Linked DNA regions of Homo sapiens: region 1 is linked to region 2. The links are contacts of gene promoters, found by promoter capture Hi-C in human tissues and cell types (Jung and others, 2019). All regions are on one chromosome and are shown on one strand. The core of a region is centred on a gene start or on the middle of the fragment in contact, and the rest is flanking DNA. Distances in the headings are between cores, read along the strand shown.

Evidence for each region. The method cuts DNA at HindIII sites, captures the fragments that hold promoters and counts their contacts. A contact is called where the count stands out against the background at its distance.
Region 1: a contact is called between a fragment that was not itself captured here and the fragment with the promoter of TAF1A in region 2, in 1 of the 25 tissues and cell types used here (mesenchymal stem cells).

What each region holds. Positions count from the first base shown.
Region 1 is chr1:221,445,057-221,449,101 of GRCh38, reverse strand. The region is part of intron 3 of LOC105372932 (a long non-coding RNA gene); the gene reads right to left. Among named protein-coding and RNA genes, the nearest start is that of LINC02817, 110 kb to the right of the region's middle. The HindIII fragment of the contact is 3,254 bases long and covers 1-2,884 here.
Region 2 is chr1:222,587,072-222,591,376 of GRCh38, reverse strand. TAF1A (TATA-box binding protein associated factor, RNA polymerase I subunit A) reads left to right here and starts at 1,444. Exons shown (of 11, transcript NM_005681.4): 1 at 1,444-1,650; 2 at 2,812-2,934. The coding sequence starts at 2,814. It overlaps TAF1A-AS1 (TAF1A antisense RNA 1), which reads right to left and starts at 1,457. Exons shown (of 3, transcript NR_110613.1): 1 at 1,415-1,457; 2 at 970-1,119. RefSeq lists enhancers at 411-943, 944-1,477. The HindIII fragment of the contact is 5,175 bases long and covers 1-2,938 here.

The DNA of each region.
Region 1 (4,045 bases), core at 8-2,507, 1.1 Mb after region 2:
ATTCTCCCCATCTGGGTCATTTGGCAGCTAATTTCAAGTTCAGTTGTTTCCAGTCTTTGGATTTTCATCCCGATCTGGCCGCGTCACCTAAAAGATTTTTATAAAGTGAACTATTTATGTATTCTAGAATTATTCACTACTAATAAGACAACACTACAATACTCTTGTCAACTATAAAAAGAGTAGAAATTGTTCTTTAATTTAAAAAATGTGAACTGTGTCAACTTTCTTTGGACTTGGTCTTTTAAAAGTGACTTGGGATTAGAGCTCTGAATAGAATAACTATGCTGGAAGCAAACACAGCACTCTTTCTACAAGACTCCTCTCGGAAGCCAAGAATTTTATGTGTTCGGCAGAGGTTTATATTATACTCGAGAGTTCACAACAGGCTTCATTGGCATGCCAACCACAGTGGCAGACCCCCTTTTTTTTTTTTTCTTGTGAGCTCAGGGCATTATAAAGAAGAAATAATACACAATAATTAAAAACTTCTGAGATTCCTGTTTGAAACCTATGGACAAATATTATTTCCAACAATTGGAGCAGAGCATTTTATTTCCAAAAAATGTCTGAAGACAAGCCACTTTTGTTCGGATAAAAAAACCAACCAACAAGCATAATCATTTGAGCTACTCTTTGTATCATGCTTTGTTGAGTATACTTAGAACTGCTGAACAGGACACACATGAATATACAGAATGACCCAAGAACTGAGTTGCCTTGGGAATGGGAAATAAGACACGTTACTAGTGCATGCTAGGATTAGGATGAAGTGGTGTGTATTTCTTAGTTTTAATGGCAATATTGTGGGTTGGGTTTGGATAAAATCCCCAAGTGAAAAATTCTGATTCCAAGCTTAACTGAGCACTTTATTTTAATTATTATATTTTTATTTTTAATACACTGTATTTTTTTCCTTCCGATTATAGGTTAAACACTCATTCATTCACTCTTCATTCTTTTAATAGTTTTGAGTAGCTTTTATGTGCCAGTCATGGGCTAAATCTTGAAATATTAACTTAAACAAGATAGAGTCCTTGCCATTAAAATGCTTACAATTTAGAAAACATATGCTTCTGGAAGAAAATATGAAATGTTTTTAAAAGAATGAGAAAGGAACATTTTAAGAGTAATTCTGGTTTGACTGCCTATAACTGCATAATGTGCCGTTATGCGACGGTGGCTGGAAAGTCACTCACATAGCTGACAATTGACGCTGGGTGTTGAATGGGAAGCTTAACTTTGGCTATTGGCCTAGGGCCTCAGTTCTTCTACATGTGGGCCTCTCCAAGGGCTACCTGTGTCTCCTCACAGCATGCCACCCAGATTCTACAAGGCAGGAAGTAGACATTGATCATCCTTTTAAGATTTCAATTCAGAAGTTTCAGAATATTATTTCTGCCGCATTCTGTTGACCAAAGGAAGTTACAAGTTTGGCCCAGAATTCAAAGGCAAATACATGCAAAAAATAAATAAATTTAAAAAAGAGGAATTGTCAGGGGATGTCTTTGGATGCTAACAGCCACAAGTGTATTATTAAGGAGTGAAACATGTGTTGGACTTCTAACCTTCTAGAACTGTAAGGACTCATGTGATTAGGTTGGATTCACTAAAATAATCAAGGGTAATATCCCCATCTCAAAGTCCTCAACCTTAATCACAACTGCAAAGTTCCTTTTGCATGTAAGGTGAGATATTCACAGGTCCTAACATTAGTATGGAGAAATCTTTGGGGAAACCATTATTTTGCCTAAATTACTTCCCTTAAAATATAATCAAACCAAAGTTACAATACTACATTTACTTTCTTTGTTTGTCTAGTGCTCTCCCTTCTTCGTGCAATTATACAAGTTCATGCATCTCAATTCCACCCTGCTTCAAGGCACAAATTAAATCTGACTGCCTCCACGAAGTCTTCCTCAATTATTTTATTCTTTGTTGATATTCTTCTCCCTGGAGCTCCTTTCATACCTGATCTATTTTGTCAGGAAATGGCCCTCTTCATTTCATATGTGTTATTTGGTTCTTCCCAAGATTTGTCTGCCCCTTACAGGGAAGGAAGGGAACATGCCCAAAAATAGCACCCTGTCCTAGCTCGTCTGTGTTCATGCTTCAAATTAGTAAAAGCTTCCTTACTGCTCTCCATGACTTTAATCTCTTAGTATTTAAATCCTTCCTACACATTTCAATTTTAAAATGCTCTCTAAAATGCCCTTCCAGTTATATCACATTTCCACTCAATATTTTACAACGTGTCCTATTGCCTTTATACTAAGAATAAAACTCTTTAGTCCTTCAGTCAATGCCCACCTACTCTGTGGTTAGAACCCTTCTCTCCTAACATATAACCTATTCATCACCCAAAATAGCATTCTGAAGAGATGTTTTCTCTTGTACCCATAGAGGGAGGGAGAGAAAGGGAGGGAAAGAATACAAATTATTTGCTATTTCCTTCCCTCTCTCCCTTCCTTCCTTCCTTCCTTCCTCCTATTTAAAATATGGATATCTAGTTGTTCCAGCGCCAGTTTTCAAAACATTATCCTTTCTTTATTCTCCATTAAGTTACTTTGGTTTCTTTGTTGAAAAACAATTGTTCAAATATGTGAGTTACTATTTTATGACTCTCTATTCTGTTTTACTGATCTACAGCTCTATCCTTATGTCTTAACCATATTGTCATGATTATTATAGCTTTATAATAAAACTTGAAATCCTATGACATAAGAACTCCAACTTTGTTTCTTTTTTAAAACTATTTTGGTCATTTTGTGACTGGACACACTAGCTCATGCCTGTAATCCTAGCACTTTGGGGAGACTGAGGTGGGAGGATTGCTTGTGGCCAAGACTTCAAGACCAACCTGGCCAAGATAGTGAGACCCTATCTCATTAAAACAAACAAACAAACAAAAACTATTTTGGTCATTTTGGGTCCTTTGTACTTCCTTATAAATTCTTAAATCAGCTTAGCAATTCTACCAAAACAGAAAACAAACAAATAAGCAAAAACACCTCTTTCTGGGATTCTGATTGTGATTGCATTGAATCTATAGATCAGTTTGAGCAGAATAGACATTTTGATAATATTGAGTCCTTCAATTCATGAGGACTCATTTGTTTGGGTCTTCTAATTTCTCTTTGCCATGATCTATAGTTTCCAGTGTATGATTGGCTTTTTGTATCTCAGGATTCCGCATCTGCAGAATCAACAAACCATGGATCAAATATATCTGGAAAAATAGCAATAAAACAGTAAAAAATAGTACACATAGAAATACAGTATAACAGTTAAGTAGCAGTTACATTGTATTAGGTATTATAAGTAATATAGACATGATTTAAAGTATACAGGAGGATGTGCATAGGTTACATACAAGTGCTATGCCATTTTATGTCAGAGACTTGACTGTCCTTGGATTTTGTTATCCACGGGGGTCCTGGAACCAATCCCTCATGGATATCAAGGGACAAGACTGTATATGTCATGTGTATATTTTGGTAGCTACATAAAATGAAGTTGAAAAGTGTTCTCTTCTGTTTTCTAGAAGAATTGTGTGGAGTTGGTATTCCTTATTCCTTCATTGGTAGAATTCAGGGATCAGAAAACTTCTTTTAAAAAAATCAGATAGCATATATTTTAAGCTTTACAGGCCAAACCATCTCTGCCACAACTATTCAATGCTGCCATTGTATTGTCTATGACAATACAAAAATGAATAAGCATGGCTGTGTTTCTACAAAACTTCATTTATGGGTACTGAAATTTGAATGACATAACTTTCAGATGTCAAGAAATACTATTTTTTTTCAATTACTTCCCAACCATTTAAAACTGTAAAAACTCTCCTTTGTTTGTTGGTTGTAGAAAAACGTGTTGGGCCACATTTGGTCCACAGGTCAGTTTGCCAACCGCTTGTATTCACCAATGAAAGCATTCTGGGTCTGGGGTTTTCTTAGAGGAAGATTTTTAATTTTACATTCAATTATGTAATAGATGTATGGTTATTAACGTTATCTATTTTTTTGAGTAAGAATGAGTACTTCAT
Region 2 (4,305 bases), core at 195-2,694:
AAATCATTTCTGGGCTGGTTTTGGTGAATTTACACCTCAAGCCAATGGGAGAAAAGTAGCCAGACTAAGCCTCTAGACAAGAAAGTAATGATTATGTATGTTATTTTGTGTGTGGTCTCCTGGACTACGCATAATTTATGTTAGCCCTGCCTGTAGAGTTAGAGCACAAGCTTGAGTGAGGACTCAAGAACTAATGACAGAGAGAGCAGCAGAAGGAACTTTTCTTGCAAGTCCTTAACTACTGCATATTGTTTTATGCAGAAGACAACATAGAATCAACTATTTGTAGCATTTTAAGGAATCCATGTACAAAATTTTTTTTGACAGGGTCTCATTCTGTCGCCCAGGCTGGAGTGCAGTAGGGTGATCACAGCTCACTGCAGCCTCGACCTCCCTGGGCTCAGGTGATCCTCCCACCTCATCCTCCCGAGTAGCTGGGACTAGAGGCATGCATCATCACCCCAGCTTATTTTTTTTTATTTTTATTTTGTAGGGACGGGGTTTCATCATGTTGACTAGGCTGGTTTCGAACTCCTGAGCTCAAACTTTCCGCCTGCCTCGGCCTCCCAAAGGGCTGGGATTACAGGCATGAGCCACCGCGCCCGGCCTCAAACTCTTACCAGACCCTTTAATTTCCTCTCCGATACTCCGATTCTACTCAAACTGTTCACCTACACAGAGGAAACTCAGTGATTCCTGGGGGAGCCTATGCTATATTTGTGCATCCTCATTTGTGGACAAAATTCTTTCTTGCTGTGACTTGAAAGCAGCCTCCCTTTACCTTTCACTTATTAGTCCTAGTTCTGTTCTCTGCTGCTAAGAAAAAGGGTCTGATCCTTCTTTCACTGATCAGCCCTCCAAATATTGGAGAAGCACACTGCGTTTCCATGGGCCTGCAGTCCTTTTCCGGGATCATCTTCCCTAGAACCCCTCAACTGTCTCTCATTTCACACGGTTTAACCATCTTACCTTTAACCCATATTTCATTTGTTTGTCTCAATGTCCCTCATGAAAGTTGACCCAGACGGGTCCGCAGAACAACTTTTGCTGAGAAGGCAAAGGAAATTCTCGCCCAAATTGTGGAGAAGGCAGTCGAACCAATTAAACCTAAAGCTAAAACTGTAATAGAAAAGAACTTTCAAGCTCGCAATGAAAAGGCTATGCATGGATTTATCTCATCACAGCCACTAGCCACACCTCCACTCGTGCAGTGCGCCTGCGAGCCGAGCAGAAACCAATGGCCCATCGTAGTGAATTTCTCGGGTAAAGTGACATTCTCCGCTTTTGAATGCTCCCTTCGCCCAGCCGCCAACCCCTCGCCCCAATTTCCATTTTAAATGAAAGTCTCCCACTTTCTAGCTGAGACAGACAAAAATAAAACTCGGGCAAAACCAATCGCAGAGAGGCAGCTCACTGTCACTTCCTGGGTCACTTCCAGAAGTCACTTCCGGGGTCGAGGCGAGGCCAACGATACGCCTGCTGCAGCAGGAGGAGTTACGAGCCGGGCCGCGCGCTGCCTAAATACCTAAACCAGGTTTAGCGCCTGCTCATATAAAGCTCTCCTAACTCGTCTTCCGGTGGGAATTTCTTCACGTGGGCCGGAGTCGGAGACTGAGTTTAGCTTTACTGAGGAGCTCTAAATTTAGGCGGGTAAGTGCCGCAGATATCGCCCGTGGTTCCTGCGTTTAAATGGAACGGGAAGGGGTGTGTCAGGATTCATCCATGTTCTCCTGATATTTCCTCCTAATACCTGAAACCCTTGGGGTCTGAAAACGAAAGAAGGGGATAGAGAAGCTTTGGTTGCCGTGGCAACTGCGGGTCACCAATTTGGGTTTTTGAGGATTTGGAAAGGGAGGATTTGTGTAACTACTCCTGAAAACACGTGATGGGTCGGATTCAAATTCAGTTGTTACTTATAATTCATACTCCTAGCCACATGCTTTGAATTTAGAAGGTTTACTCTGGGTATAATGCAGAGATGCAAAATCTGAGCCAGGGTAATTGTTTAGAAAGCTGATGCGGTAATCTAGGCACTGTTTGAAGGGGTCTTGAACTAGAGTAGTGCTGTAGGATTGAAGAGGGGAAATAGGGGAAATTTGGAGGTAGTATCAGGGGCACTAATACTCGATTTCATATGGGTAATGAGGAAGGGGCCCTGAGCATCTTTAGGAGTAAGTCTAAACTCACCTTGGCTTATGATGATTTTTCTAGGTTCGTTTCTCACCTTCCGCACCCCTCCTCCACACGCACCTCGAATTCTAGTCATGCCAAGTAGTTTGGTGTTCTATTTCCTAGACTATCGTCCTCACCATTTTTTGTGATGTTAGGCAGGTTCCATCATTTCACTAAGCCCCTCAGTTTTTTCAACCTTCACATGGAAGAAAGTAATAGTACCCACCTCAGGATTGCTGTGGGGATTAAATTAGATAATTTATACTTCTAGTGCATAGTAAGGGCCTAATAAATATTAGCTGCTACTTCTATTCTTACTGTACTTTTCATATTGTTTTGTTATTATACGTTTTGCTGTTTCTTCGTCTAGACTTGAGATTTTTTAAATTAGAGGGGCAGTATCTTATTTATCTTTACATGGACTTGAAACATTAGTGGTTCGGTCTTTAATGGATCATTCATTTTGGCTGTTGCTGACATAGTTAAATTCATTTTTTACTTTAAAAGAGCTGACAGGTATAATGCATTTTGCTAATCAAATTATATTTATTAGATAAAAAGATAGCCGTTTTTCTGTACAACTCAGAAGACTGTGGATTAAGATGTACAGAAAGTAACTGATATCTCATCTTGTAATAGGTATGAGTGATTTCAGTGAAGAATTAAAAGGGCCTGTGACAGATGATGAAGAAGTGGAAACATCTGTGCTCAGTGGTGCAGGAATGCATTTTCCTTGGCTTCAAACATACGTAGAAACTGTGGGTAAGTAAAATAATAACATTGAGCCATTTTAACTTTAAGGAGGTGGTAAGATTCAATAGGGATACAAAATGAATAACCAGACTGGTTTAATTTTCAAGAGGAATATGTGGAGGGTTTTTTGGCTAAAAGCCAAAAGAAATCTTTTTTCTTTTAGAATTCTTTGCCCTTGGATTAATAATAGATAGTCTGTATTATGCTAGATACACATTTTTTCCAGTAATACTTACTGAGCACTTTTATCTCTGGCATTGATTAAATATTGGGGAGTCATAGGTGAAGATATGGTCTCTGCCATTGAGGAAAACATGCCTAGGAAGTGTTCAAGAAGTTGCTGTTGAATTGCATTGAAATTATTTCGAATAGAATTGATCGTGTAATAGATTTTTTTTTTTTTTGAGACAGAGTCTTGCTCTGTTGCCCACGCTGGAGTGCAGTGGCTAGATCTTGGCTCACTGCAACCTCTGTCTCCCAGGTTCAAGTGATTCTACTCAGCCTCCCGAGTAACTGAGATTACAGGTACCAGCCACCACGCCTGGCTAGTTTTTGTATTTTTAATAGAGACAGGGTTTCACCATGTTGGGCAGGCTGTTCTTGAACTCTTGACCTCAAGTGACCTGCCCACCTCAGCCTCCCAAAGTGGTGGGATTACAGGCATGAGCCACTGCACCCGGCCTAGATAAAAGAGCATTTTCCCCCATTTTTATCTAATGTAAATGCAAGCATGATTTTCTATGGGATAAAATTTCCCCCATTTTTATCTAATATAAATGCAAGTATGTTTTTCTATGGGATAAATTCCCTATAAGAATATATTTAATATAAGTATAAATAAAAGAAGCTATTATCTGTATGCTGGCATATTGAGTGGTATAGTCCTGGGATTACATTTGAACCAGCATTTTACTTACTGCCCTTAAATATGTGTTTTTTTGCCCAGCCTTTTCTCCCCTTGACAGAGATTCCTTGGCTCCTAAAATTTCGCTTCCATTTTTTTCTTTTGATCTAAGTATCATCCCATTTAATGATCTCAGTAAATTCTCAATAAATTTTTATGCTAGGCAGTTTAGGTAGGATGAAACTGAATCTCAAAGACATTAAACTCTTAAGTGGTATCAGGAGTCAAATCCAGGTTTGTCTGATCTCAAAGCTTACACTTTTAACGACTGAGATGCATTTTTAAAAATGAGACAATATATGTAAAGTACCTAGCATAGTATCTCATGCATAATGAGTGTTGAAAAATAATAGTGCCTTTCCTCTCCTCATTTTATTTTTGCTAGATTAATGCACATGGCTTAAGGCAGATTTGAATGAATGATACTTCAGAGGTAGTGCTACCGCATCCCTGGTAGGGAACAAACTAGTAATTTA